4 separate regions of the Homo sapiens genome follow, and all the other regions are linked to region 1. The links are contacts of gene promoters, found by promoter capture Hi-C in blood cells and fetal thymus (Javierre and others, 2016). All regions are on one chromosome and are shown on one strand. The core of a region is centred on a gene start or on the middle of the fragment in contact, and the rest is flanking DNA. Distances in the headings are between cores, read along the strand shown.

The links. Contacts are between HindIII fragments. The CHiCAGO score rates a contact against its expected background, and 5 or more counts as called.
Region 2: a contact is called between a fragment that was not itself captured here and the fragment with the promoter of ARHGEF19 in region 1, in 2 of 17 cell types (endothelial precursors and erythroblasts). The highest score is 6.6, in endothelial precursors.
Region 3: a fragment that was not itself captured here is called in contact with the fragment with the promoter of ARHGEF19 in region 1 in 1 of 17 cell types (endothelial precursors); the score reaches 7.0 in endothelial precursors.
Region 4: a fragment that was not itself captured here is called in contact with the fragment with the promoter of ARHGEF19 in region 1 in 9 of 17 cell types (endothelial precursors, megakaryocytes, M2 macrophages and 6 more); the score reaches 13.1 in endothelial precursors.

Annotation. Positions count from the first base shown.
Region 1 is chr1:16,211,173-16,214,398 of GRCh38, reverse strand. It overlaps ARHGEF19 (Rho guanine nucleotide exchange factor 19), which reads left to right and starts at 1,747. Exons shown (of 16, transcript NM_153213.5): 1 at 1,747-1,897. RefSeq lists an enhancer at 1,245-1,943. The HindIII fragment of the contact is 4,473 bases long and covers 1-2,474 here.
Region 2 is chr1:16,447,100-16,450,325 of GRCh38, reverse strand. It overlaps NECAP2 (NECAP endocytosis associated 2), which reads right to left. Exons shown (of 8, transcript NM_018090.5): 3 at 2,352-2,456; 4 at 2,185-2,266; 5 at 1,125-1,233. Among named protein-coding and RNA genes, the nearest start is that of NECAP2, 8.0 kb to the right of the region's middle. The HindIII fragment of the contact is 2,430 bases long and covers 294-2,723 here.
Region 3 is chr1:16,430,217-16,433,442 of GRCh38, reverse strand. SPATA21 (spermatogenesis associated 21) reads left to right here. Exons shown (of 13, transcript NM_198546.1): 2 at 519-653; 3 at 2,021-2,105. The coding sequence starts at 2,072. Among named protein-coding and RNA genes, the nearest start is that of SPATA21, 5.6 kb to the left of the region's middle. The HindIII fragment of the contact is 2,375 bases long and covers 375-2,749 here.
Region 4 is chr1:16,357,887-16,361,112 of GRCh38, reverse strand. No RefSeq gene overlaps it. Among named protein-coding and RNA genes, the nearest start is that of FBXO42, 7.0 kb to the right of the region's middle. RefSeq lists a silencer at 434-650. The HindIII fragment of the contact is 7,817 bases long and covers 1-3,226 here.

The DNA of each region.
Region 1 (3,226 bases), core at 498-2,997:
TGGAGTGCCGGGCGTGGTGGCTCATGTCTATAAATCCAGTACTTTGGGAGGCCAAGGCTGGTGGATCGCCTGAGCCCAGGAGTTTGAGACTAGGCTGGGCAACCTGGTGAGATCCCATCTCTACAAAAAATACAAAAATTAGTCAGGTGTGGGGGTGCACACCAGTGGTCCCAGTTACTCAGGAGGCTTAGGTGGGAGAATCACCTGAGCCCAGGAGGTCGACGAGACTGCAAGTGAGCCCTGTAATTGCACCACTGTACTCCAGCCTGGATGACAGAGTGAGACCCTCTCACTTGAGGACATTTTATTTTATTTTTTGACAATAAATACATAAAATAGACTGGGTGCGGTGGCTCACGTCTATAATCCCAGCACTTCGGGAGGTTGAGGCGGGTGGATCACTTAAGGTCAGGAGTTCAAAAACCAGCCTGGCCAACATGGTGAAACCCTGTCTTGACTAGAAACAAAAAAAATTAGTAGGGTGTGGTGGCATGCGCCTGTAATCCCAGCTACTGGGGAGGCTGAGGCAGAAGAATTGCTTGAACCTGGGAGGCAAAGGTTGCGGTGAGCTGAGATCCCACCACTTGCTCCAGCCTGGGTGACAGAGCAAGACTCCATCTTAAAAATAAATAAATAAATAAATAAATAAATAAATAAATAAATAAATAAAATAAAATAAAATAAAATTTACTGGAGGATGTACAAAGGTTATAGCAAACACTATGACATTTTGTATAAGGGACTGGAGCAGCCATGGATTTTCGTATGGGAGGGTTCTAGAACCAATTCCCCACAGATTCTGGGTACCAAGGGACAACTGTACTCACCTGATAAGTGGTAGCAGTATCTACCTGACAGGGTCATGGTGGAGATTAAATGAGTAAATACATGTGAAGTGCTCAGGACAGTGCCTGGCACCTAGTAGGTGAACAATAAGTTAGCTTCATGACTATTAGTCTGTGTACACATCTGCATATTAATATTAGGTGCCTGGCAATTGCTGGTAGCTCAAACAGATGGCAGGTAGAATTAGGGGAAAATGCAGCTTCCCATTCCACAGGGTTGGGAAGATTGCATGCCGGGCATAGAGCATGCCCTTCTTATTGGAGGCAGTTTGACTTGGCTATTTGGCTTGGTTTATTGAGGGCTCAATTGGTATAGTCTGGGAAGGCTTCATGGTGGAGGCGGCCACTGGAGATGGTGGGGCAGGTCATTCCAGGCCGTGGGAAAGGATGGGGATTTGCAAGCAGTGGCTGTACTAGATGAGGAGAGGCTGTCCAGGATGATGCCACATGTCACATCATCAACTTTCAGGACTGATTTCTGTCTCCCAATCATAGGGATGAGTGTTCCAATTTGATAGATGTAGTAATAGGATCAGAGAGGGTCATCAGGGTTCTCAGGGTCCCTAAGGAGTGCAGGGCTTGGGAGGCTCTCTGTGAAGCTCCCAGGATGCTCCCCAGCTCCAAGAAGTCCCCTGAGCATGCTCATGTTTGGGAAGCTCCAGAAGAGTGGTGACCTGTCTCCTAGGAGCAGAAGCACTGCCTCCCCCGTCTTTAGGACCTGGGTGTAGGGTCCTTCAGAGCCTCACTTGGGCATAGGACTCCCATTGTTCCAGCCCCCCTCTTGTACCCCAGACTAGCCAAACCGGTTCTGGGGAAGGGGGGCGGGGAGCAGGCACGTTGAGACAGCCGCCTGCCTCTCTCTGCAAGGTTCCCTCCTCCTTCACCTCCCCCTCCCTGCCCCACACAATACCCAGGAGCTTGCCTTGCTCGGCTCTGGGGCCATGCTGACATGCTGACATCGCCCCCTGAGGACTTGGCTGCAACCCCAGAGCCCCCAGGGTGTCCCGGAGCCCTGGACCGTGCTGGCAGCTGGACGGAGCTCCCTGGCTGAGGTAGGGCCCCACCTGGGTGCCAGCAGTCCCATTCTCTTCCCGCCAGTTTTCCCCGCTGAGTGAGCCCTTTGTGCTGCCCGCCTGGTCTCTGATCCTGGCTCTGACCCACTATGGCCTTCTGGGGCTCTGTGAACCACTTGGCCTGGATCCACTTTCCAGCCATGACTTCCCACCTGGCTTTATTCCTTAAAGGGCAGAGAGGCTCTGGCAGGGTACCAGCTCTCCTGGGCAGCAAGGCAAGGGGCACCCGGGAGGGGGCAGGGAAAAGCTAGGTACAGGAGGCCAGAAACACTTTTTCTGATCATGGTAGTGTCCAGGGACTCTCTGGCAGCCTTGCTAAGTGGGCCCATCGTCTTCTGTAATTAGCAGCACCCACCAAGGGTACTTTCCTCGGCCCCTGCCCATCCTTCTTGGCCCAGAGACATTTATGATGAGACATGTTTCTTAGAGAGGGCATTGGGCGGTGGTGCGGTCCCTTAGGAGCCACTTTACAGATGGGAATACTGAGGCCAAGGGATGGGCTGTGAATTGCCTAAGGCCACACAGCTGGTCAGTGTCAACACTGGGCCTCAAAGCTTGGGCGGAGGTTATTCTTTTTGGGCTCCAGAGTGGCCCTTGCCTAGTAGACACAAGAGTCTCTATCCTGTGATCGTGCCTTGGGAAGGTAATGTCCCTGCTGTCTGGGGCCAGTTCTCTTTCTGAGGTTTTTGTTTGTTTTTTTCTAACAGAGATGAGCTACACACAATATGAACACAGCTTGTCCCTCTTAGCTCCCCAGCATTGAGGTTGGGTGGGCCAAACCCCTGGAGGGCCACAGGGCTGGCATCCCAGCTAGATGGGTCATTCTTATTACCCCTTGGCTTGAGCATAGGTGGAGGCTGACACACTCCTGACTTCTTCCCTGCTAGGGACCTGCCTCCAGCTTCATCTCCCCGGGAAGCCTTCTATGTCCCCTCTCCCCACATTCACCTAGCCTTCTCCTCTGCAGCCTTAACTGGGGGTGCTCCTGCTGCAAAGCCTCAATGTTTTGCCTACTTATCCCTGTGAGCCATGGGAGAGAGGGTCCCTCCCTGCCCTCCAGGAGCTTCCAGAACCCAAGTGCTAGAATCTCCCAGCATACAAAGGGGCAGGGGGCATGTGTACATGCCTGCACATGTGTGCCCCCAGAAGCAAGTGGGACTTCTGTGTCGAGGACTTCTGATTCCTGCAGAGAAAGAGACCCGTCTGTGGGCAGGGGCCTCCTTGTGCACACTCCTGCGATATAATGTGTGTCTCAGCCTCACTCCTTCATCTTCCCCATCTGTGTGAAGGCCTGAGCTGCCTTCTGTC
Region 2 (3,226 bases), core at 259-2,758, 240 kb before region 1:
TGTTTAATTCACATGAGAAATGCCTAAAAAAAAAAAACAACAAAACAAAACAAAAAACAAAACAAAACAAAAAAAAACCACTACCTGGCCCTCAGCTGATGCTCATTAAATGTTAGTTTCCTCCAAGCGAGAGAAAGAATCACATCCCAACCAGTCCACTGGATTGGACTTGCATTTCTCTCTTAAGGGCCAGCTGGCCAACTTCAAGGATCCCAAATCATCACCAGCACGAAGCAGAAAAGAGGAGAAAGAGTAAGTAAAGAGGAAAAGCATTATTTTAGAGTTACAAAGCTTCTTGAAAAAACAAATCCATCTCAACACAGTATTCCTAGCAAAAACAAAAACCAATCCACTTGGTCCTTGGGTCCCCGCAATCATGACTCTGACCTCATCTCCCCTCTCCACCCTTGCAGCCAGGTAAAGGCCAACTTTAGGCAACCCAGCCCAGCCCAGCCCAGCCCAACCTGTTCCTATGAACAGGAGCTGACGGGAGGGAAGCCAGAGGCAGAGCAGCTCAGAACGAAGACACAGGAGCCAGGACAACACCATCAGCACAAGCTGCCCAGGACTCCCAGCGCCCACCTCAACGCCCTCCTGCCAGAACTCTCCCAAATCTTCCTTATTCAAGACACAGCCTGGGATGAGCACACAGGTCCCTCCTGATGCACTCTAATAGCTAGGACAGAAACACCACCTCTGGCAGCAAATGACTGATGCTCCTTCTCAGTTCAGAGGCTTTGCACCTGCTGTTCCTCTGTGTGAACCACTCTTTGATCACTCTTCCCTTGCCTACAGGTCCCTTCTTCCAGGAAGCCTTCCTTGGTTCCCACAACTATGGGCTGCACACCCTTCCTCTAGGAGCCCACGGCACCCAGGGCATCCCTTAGTCATGGAACCTTTCCTGCCATGTTGTTATCACATTTTTACCTGCCTGTCTCAGCTCAACTCTGAGCTCCATGAGAACAGAGGTCTCTTGTTCACCCCGATGCAGGACCTGGCACAAGGCAGATGCTCACTAAACATCTGCTGAACTGAAGGAGCTGAACTGTAAGAAGAGCAATGGGCTCTGGGGCTGGGTGGCCACAAGTATCACGTCACCACAGCCAAGCAAGGGTAGAACTCACTGCGATGTTGAGCTTGATGGTCTGGCCCTCCTTGAAGCCCAGGTCCAGTTTAGGGCCTTGGTCTGGGTTCTGGGCTTGTTTTGCAAATTCACACTGCTGTTTCACCCACCTGGGGAGAGAACATGAGGAAAAAGGTGAGGAAGGAAGAGACCAGCTGCCCTGCAATCACTGGCTCACTTCACTACTGCCTGCTATCAGTCCAGGCTGAGCCTCGTAGTGAGACGGGGTGCTGGAAAGAGTGCAGGCTTGGGAGTGAGGCCTGAATTCAAATCCCAATCTGACACTTAAGTAGCGGCATGCACATTGGTTTCCTCATCAGCAAAATATGCCCACAATTCTATAGGTTTTCAAGATGGCTACGAATGCAGCGAGATCACTTACGTAGAGGGTCCTAACACTATCTCTAGGACACGTGAGAGCCTGCCCTTCCCTCTACAGTATATGACATGAGAACTAAGATGCGGTCTCTACACACCCTCAAACACTCAGAAGGCAGACGGGGGGACAAGACAGATACCCAAAAGTAGAGGGCAACACAAAAGTCCCCCACCCTCCATACCACACCACCCAGCAGCACCGGTAAGGGAAGAGCCAGAGGCGCCCATGTGAGTGGCCGGGCACAGCCCACTCACTGGCAGCCTGAGTTCGAGCCCTGCAGATGGTGGAGGAGGACTTCCTGCCCTGTCTCTTAGCTTCAGAAAAGGACATCAGGGCATCTGCTGGGTGCCCTGGGAATCCAAGCGCCATTGATTACATGGAGGAGCAGGCCCAGAAAGGCCACAGGAGCCTGATGAGGACTCTGGCTGCTCAGGGGACTGGTAAGGGGAGACAGGTGGCAGGCCCGAAGGCTGGGATGGTAGAGATGAGCCTCAGGTAAAAGAGAAGGCTTTACAGCAGAGATGAACATTGGCAGAGAAGAGAGGTGGCTTGTCCTGGGTTCTCCTGAGTCTCTGCTGCCAGACAAATCACACACAAACACTTGGGTATCCTAACCTGGGAGATCATTCTGTCCAGGGAAAGAAGGGAGGGGCATGAGCGTGTGTCTCCCAGACCCACTCACTTGAAATGGTCCTGCAATGCAACATTGAAGTCAAAGGCATCACCTCGGTCCCCGAAGCCAATTCCAATAAACGCCCGTCGCCCTGGGGAACAACACATGATCAACCCACCTTCCAAAGGCAGAGAAAACCTTTCCCAAGAGGAGGAAGCACCAGGACCCATGCCTACCATTTCCATCTTCGATGCGGATCACGAAGTACCTGCTGGAATCCGTCACACTCTCCACAGCTGTGCCAGGAAACTGATCCACCGGGGCCTGAGCAAAGAGCTCCCCTGAAAGCACAGGTTAGGCTGAGCGCTGAGCCCTGAGCCCCCTTCCAGCCAAGGTTTTCTACCACACTACTGGGCCTTTTGCCCGCAAGGCATCTCTAACCAGCTGAGACAGATCGGCAAACCTTACTGTGGGATTCAAATCGAATCCATTCTTGCTAAAGGGAAGACACAGAAAATATAATCAAGGAAAGGCTTAAGTCAGAGAGCTTACAGGTCAAATTTAGCTCACAGTTTGGTATTCTGCCTGGCCTCTCTTAAAATTAAGCTTTATTAATGCTGAGCCTCCAAGCCCACCTGAGAATAAGTTGGAGCTGCTAGCCCATCCATTCCATCTGCTTTACCCACTTATATTACCTGAACCCTGAGTGTCCTAGAACAGGTGAACCCTGGCCTAGGTAATCACACCTGCTGAAGAGGCTAGTACCTGAGGCAGGACTATAAGAGGGGCCAGTGAGCCCCGAGGAAAGAAGGGAGGAAGTTTTCATACCCATAGGGAATCTGAAGCAGGCTGATTTAATTCAATCTGAGACAGGGCAAGCGTGACTAGCTTTAAAAGCCCTTGTGAAACACATCACCTTGTCAACTACAGCACTCGACAGTGCGGCACAACATAAAATTTCCACAAGCATTTATGACTGGCATCAGTTTTTCCCATGTGCTGACGTCTGTTGTTGCTTTTAGTATTTTTTGTTTTGTTTTTTAGAAACAGGGTCATGGAGTGGGTATGGTCCCAGCACTTTGGGAGGCTGAAGTGGGGTGCGTTGCTTGAG
Region 3 (3,226 bases), core at 313-2,812, 220 kb before region 1:
GGAGGGGCAAGGAACTCCAAGGCAAGAGAGAAGGACTTGGCCACAGCCCTGACTTTTCCGCTCCAGGTGACAGCCTGGTCCTTCGTGAGGCCAGAGCTGCACCAGGGGTGGGAGGTCACCCCACCAAACCAGCTGAGGTCTGCTTTGCATGGCAGGGGTGCAGCTGTAACTGCAGGAAGGGCCTGGAGGGCAGGAAAAGGAAGTGCGAACTTGGGTCAGCAGCTATTAAGTGCGCCTCCTCTGTGTCCCTGGTAAACTGTGGGAACCGTCAGGACACCCAGTGTATCCCCTAAGGCCTGACGTTGTCCCTAGCACGGGCACGTGTCATTAAACAGTTATCGATTGCACAAGGAAATGAATGAATGACTTAAGCTTCTTTGTAGGCAAAATGATATGATGAGATGAGTGGCCATGGGAGTCAGACAGGCCTGGGTTTGAATCCAGTTCCTCTGCAGACTGGCCATGTGGTATCGGACAAAACATTGCTCAGAGCCTTAATTTCCCTATCTTTAAAACAGGGCTGAACCCAGACTTCACAGGGCTGTTAGGAGAATACTGTTTACAAAGGTTTCCAGCACATGGAAGGTTCCTCCGTGGATGCTGGCGGGCCTGCCATGATTTAAAGTGGAAGAAGCACCATCAAGATCTTCAAGGTCATATGGTCTCACTACAGGAGGAAGGGGCATGGGGGTTAGGATTTACTCCTGGAAACTAGTTAACAGTGAAAGGGGGTCCATGTACCCATAGAAATGGTGCTGATGTTGCCTCAAAGGAATTCAGTGGCTGGAGAGAGAGCTGAGATGGTTGGAAACTTGGAGAAGAGGGAGGAGCTTGAAGGATGGGTTGGGGGCTATCGGAAAGATAGAAAAAATGGGAGGTGGGCACAGAGGCTGGGGTCTGTGGGACTAGGATTGCAGGAGCCTGCCTGGATTAAAACAGAAAGTTTGTGTAGGGGGTGGTGGCACAGCTGAACATGAGGTTGGATGAAAGAGGTGGAGGAGAGATGAAAGGCTTCAGAAATGGCCAGGTGCAGTGGCTCACACCTGTAATCCCAACACTTTGGGAGGCCGAGGCGGGCGGATCACTTGAGGTCAGGAGTTCAAGACCAGCGTGGCCAACCTGGTGAAACCCCATCTCTACTAAAAATACAAAAATTAGCCGGGCATGGTGGCGGCCGCCTAAAATCCCAGCTAGTAGGGAGGCTGAGGCAGGAGAATTGCTTGAGCCCAGGAGGCAGAGGTTGCAGTGAGCCAAGATTGCAGCACTGCACTCCAGCCTGGGCAACAGAGCGAGACTCTGTCTCAAAACAAACAAAAAAAAAAAAAAAAGAAGAAGAAGAAGAAGAAAAGAAAAAGAAAAAGAAAGGATGTGTCCAGGGCAGGGTGTGGGTGCTTTGGTGAACTGCAGATTGCCGCTGGAGACTTTGGGGCCCTGAGACAGATGGACAGATGTCCCTAGTTCTTGTTCCTTAGCCCCATCTAAGAACATGGAGTTTTCATCTATAGCAGGAGCAGCTGTGACATTCTTGGACTCTCTTTAAAAGGCACATTAGTATTTTAAAGGCTCTGAGAAGTTGTACAGGAAAGAGCCTGTATCATTTCGCTCATCACAGCACTTTCCAAAGGCATTTAGCCTTGGAACCCCTTGGAGCATCTGAAGGGACCAGTATGCCAAAGAATACCCTGTAGGAAATGTCGCCGTCGGGGAAAGCGCCTGGGTTTTGGGATTCAACAGGCCATGGTTCAAATCCTCGTCTGCGACCTAGCAGGTGTTAGATCTTGGGCAAGTCTTGTGCCTTCCAGAGCCCCTTTTCCTCAGGGTCATAGTGAGAACTAGGAAAAGCGTATGGGTAAATGGCATGTGGCTAGCTCTCTGGTTTTGCTGCGTGCCTCTCCTTGCAAGGCCTGGCCCCGCCTCTTCCCTCGAGCCAGGCTGTCTACATTATAGGCTCCAAGTGGGCTCCTGAAGCAGCAGTTAGGTGATGGGCTTGGTGGGACGCTTGATTGGATTTCTCCTGTAGGAGCACACTAGGTGATGCCCCTCACTTGGCACCCGTGTTGGCGCTGGCATCATGGACAATAGAAACACCCAGATGTACACGGAGGGTAGAACCAAGGCTCCAGGGACGCAGCCAAGTCCTGGCCTGAGGATCACCATAAAGAGGGCTGGTGTTGAGCCCATCATACCAGGAGTCAGCAAGGTAGGGACCTGCACCCCATGTTCTGATCCATTCACTCCTAGCTGGCACCTTTCCCTTCCCCTGCCCAGGCTTCCTCCCCAGCTGCTTTAATTAAGACTCTGTTAAAAATGGACACAAAACCCAATTCAAACTGGATTAAGCAGAAAAGAGAATATATCAGTTTGGGTAACTGACACATGCCTTCATAGACTTCAGGTATGGCTAGATCAATGTGCTAAATGAGTATCTCTTGGCTCTATGTTCCTCCGTGTTGGATTCATTCTCAGGCAAGCTCTCCCTGCAAGATGGCAGGGATTGCCCTGGCCACTCCAGGATTACATCTTCCCATCTTACACCCTCTGGTTTAGCATTCCAACAGGAAGTGAGCCTCTTTGCAATAGTTGAAACAAGTCTCTAGCATCACTGTCATTGGCCCAGATTGTGGTCAGATGCTCATCCTTGAACCAATCACCATGGCAGTGGGGAGTGGTCTGGATCTCTTGATACAATGGAGACAGAGGTGATAGGTGGCTCCACTGAGCCCCATGGGCTGAATGGAGAAGAGAAGCTTCCCAAAAACAATGCTGGCTTCTGTAACGGAAAGAGCTGCAGGGTGAGCAAACCCAGAATTGCCTACTCGCTCTTCTAGGTGCCTTGCATGGCCTCCAAACTCCCCTCACAGCCTCCAGCCCAGCTTTATTCTCCTGAGAGCTACTCAGGGCTTCCCTCCATGCCCCTCCCCAGAGCCCAGCCTGCATCCTAAGCTTCCATCACACCTCTCAGCCTCTTTCCATCAAATATGTTTATTAGTTTGTTTGTTTGTTTATTTTTGAGACAGGCTCTCACTCTCTCACCCAGACTGGAGTGCAGTGGTGCGATCACGACTCACTGCAGCCTCGAACTCCCAGGCTTAAGCGATCCTCCTGCCTCAGCCTCCTGAGTAGCTGGAACTATAGGCGTGGCTTGTGCCACCATACCCAACTATTTTTTTAATTTTTTGTAGAGACAAGGCTTTATCATGTTGCCCAGGCTGGTCTTGAACTCATG
Region 4 (3,226 bases), core at 201-2,700, 150 kb before region 1:
GGAGGCTGAGGCAGGAGAACTGCTTGAACCTGGCAGGTGGAGGTTGCAGTGAGCCAAGATAAAGCCACTGCGCTAGCCTGGGTAACAGACTCCATCTCAAAAAATAAAAATAAAAAAAATAAAAAATAAAAAAATAAAAATAAGGCCGGGCACGGTGGCTCATGCCTGTAATCCCAGCACTTTGGGAGGCCAAGGCGGGTGGATTGCCTGAGGCCAGGAGTTGGTGACCAGCCTGGCCAACATAGTGAAACCCTATCTCTACTAAAAATACATAAAATTAGCTGGGCGTGGCAGCAGGCGCCTGTAACCCCAGCTACTCGGGAGGCTGGGGCAGGAGAATTGCTTGAACCCTGGAGATGGAGGTTGCAGTGAGCCAAGATCGCTCCATTGCACTCCAGCCTGGGCAACAAGAGCGAAACACCATCTCAAAAATAAATAAATAAATAAAAATAAAAATACAAAAATTAGCTGGGCGTGGTGGCACGCACCTGTAATCCCAGGTACACAGGAGGCCGAGGCAGGAGAATCGCATAAAGCCTGGAGACAGAGGTTGCAGTGAGCCGAGATCATGCCACTGAACTCCAGCCCGGGTGATAGAGCCAGACTCAGTCTCAAAACAAACAAACAAACAAACAAAAAGAAAATGTGCATACCTAAGGATATCCATTGCTATTTTGTCTATAATCAAAAAAGACTGGAAACAAATTAAATGTTCATCGCTAGAGAATTTGTTTTAAAAGACTATGGTACATTCCTATAAAAGAATAGAATGCAACTGTTAATAACATTTATATTGTCCTAAATGCACTGATACTGAGTGATCTCACATGAGAACTAAAAATAAAATCCTAAACCTTCCAACGGACTAAATGGACACCCTTTTGGTACAGGGGACCCCAGAGAAGCCATGATGGAACAGGAAGTCAGACACACTTGGTTATACCCTATCCCTTTCACAGTTTAGACACAACAATTGACCAGCATTAATGCTAAAATAGAGATCATAAGACTGACACAACAAATGCTTTGTGGTAATAAGATGCTTTTTTTTTTTTTTTTTTGAGACACAGTCTCTCTCTGTTGCCCAGGCTGGAGTGCAGTGGCTCGATCTCGGCTCACTGCAACCTCCACTTCCCAGGTTCAAGAGATGCTCCTGCCTCAGCCTCCTGAGTAGTTGGGATTACAGGCTGGCAACACCACGCCCGGCTAATTTTTGTATTTTGAGTAGAGATGGGGTTTCACCATGTTGGCCATGCTGGTCTCAAACTCCTGAGCTAGTGATCCTCCTGCCTCAACCTCCCAAAATGCTGGGATTACAGACGTGAGCCACCGCGTGCGACCAAGATGCCAATTATAAACAGGACATAAGGTCATACCAAGCAAGGGTTAAGTCATGCACCCCAACCCTTTAAGAATAAACTATGTTCTGGCCAGGTGTGGTGGCTCATGCCTTTAATCCCACCACTCTGGGAGGCCGAGGCAGGCAGATCACCTGATGTCAAGAGTTCGAGACCAGCCTGGCCAACGCCGTGAAACCCTGTCTCTACTAAAAATACAAAAATTAGCCAGGCGTGGTGGCGCATACCTGTAAATCCCAGCTACTTGGAGGCTGAGGTAGGAGAATGGCCGGAACCTGGGAGGCTGAGGTTGCAGTGAGCCGAGATCATGCCACTGCACTCCAGCCTGAAAGACAGAGCGAGACTCTGTCTCAAAAAAACAATAAATTGGGCCGGGCGTGGTGGCTCATGTCTGTAATCCTAGCACTTTGGGAGGCTGAGGCGGGCGGATCACGAGGTCAGGAGATCGAGACCATCCTGGCTAACATGGTGAAACCCCATCTCTACTCAAAATACAAAAACAGCCAGTCGTGGTGGCACGCACCTGTAGTCCCTCAGGAGGCTGAGGCAGGAGAATGGCATGAACCCAGGAGGTGGAGCTTGCAGTGAGCCGAGATTGTGCCACTGCACTCCAGCCTGGGCGACAGAGGGAGACTCCATCTCAAAAAAAAAAAGAAAACAAAAGAATAAATTATGTTCTGGGCTGTACACAGTGGCTCACACCTGTAATCCCAGCACAATTTCAGCACCTTGGGAGGCCAAGGCAAGGTGGGCGGATCACCTGAGGTCAGGAGTTCAAGACCAGCCTGGCCAACATGGAGAAATCCTGTCTCTACTAAAAATACAGTAATTGGCTGGGCGCAGTGGCTCACGCCTGTAATCCCAGCACTTTGGGAGGCTGAGGCGGGTGGATCACCTGAGGTCAGAAGTTGGAGATCAGCCTGACCAACGTGGTGAAACCCTGTCTCTACTAAAGACACAAAACATTAGCTGGGCATGGTGATGCGTGCCTGTAACCCCAGCTACTTGGGAGGCTAAGGCAGTAGAATCGCTTGAACCCAGGAGGCAGAGGTTGCAGTGAGCCGAGATTGTGCCATTGCACTCCAGCCTGGCTGATAGGGCAAGACTCTGTCTCAGATAAATAAATAAATAAATAAATAAATAAATAAATAAATAAATAAAATAAAAAACCAAAAAATACAAAAAATTAGCTGGGCGTGGTGGCACACACCTGTAATCCCAGCTACTTGGGAGGCTGAGGCAGGAGAATCGCTTGAACCCGGGAGGGGGAGGTTGCAGTGAGCCGAGATCACGCCATAGCACTCCAGCATGGCGACAGAGCAAGACTCTGTCTTGAGAAAAACAAAACAAAACATATAGATAGAAAAGGTACGGTAAAAATATGGTATTATAATCTTATGTGACCACCATTGTACATGTGGTTTGCCATTGACCACTGTTATGTGGTGCGTGACTGTGATTGATTATTGGGACAGACTCTGGAGGAAAGTACCTTATTTAAACGTATTAGAGAGACTCCAACCACCCCTTTCATTCTAGCCTTATCCCCTGTCTTTAATCATGTCCCAATCAGCCTTCACACTGCAGAGAGACTATTCTGAAAAACCATTTTAATTATAGAGTATAACCTCCCCGTTCCCAGTTCTTCATGACCTATAATGTAATCTCCAGTCTTCCCCCGATATTCCAGCCACTATGTAGCTCAGTTTCGTCATCTTTAAAATAGGCACAATAATGACGCCTACTTAGCAGAGTTCGGTACATAATAAATGTAAACAATAAATAGCAATTGTGATTATTATTAGAGTTTAATACTTTTGTCCTTATCACAATTTATACTTCTATCTTGTCTACAGTCTTTGTGTATT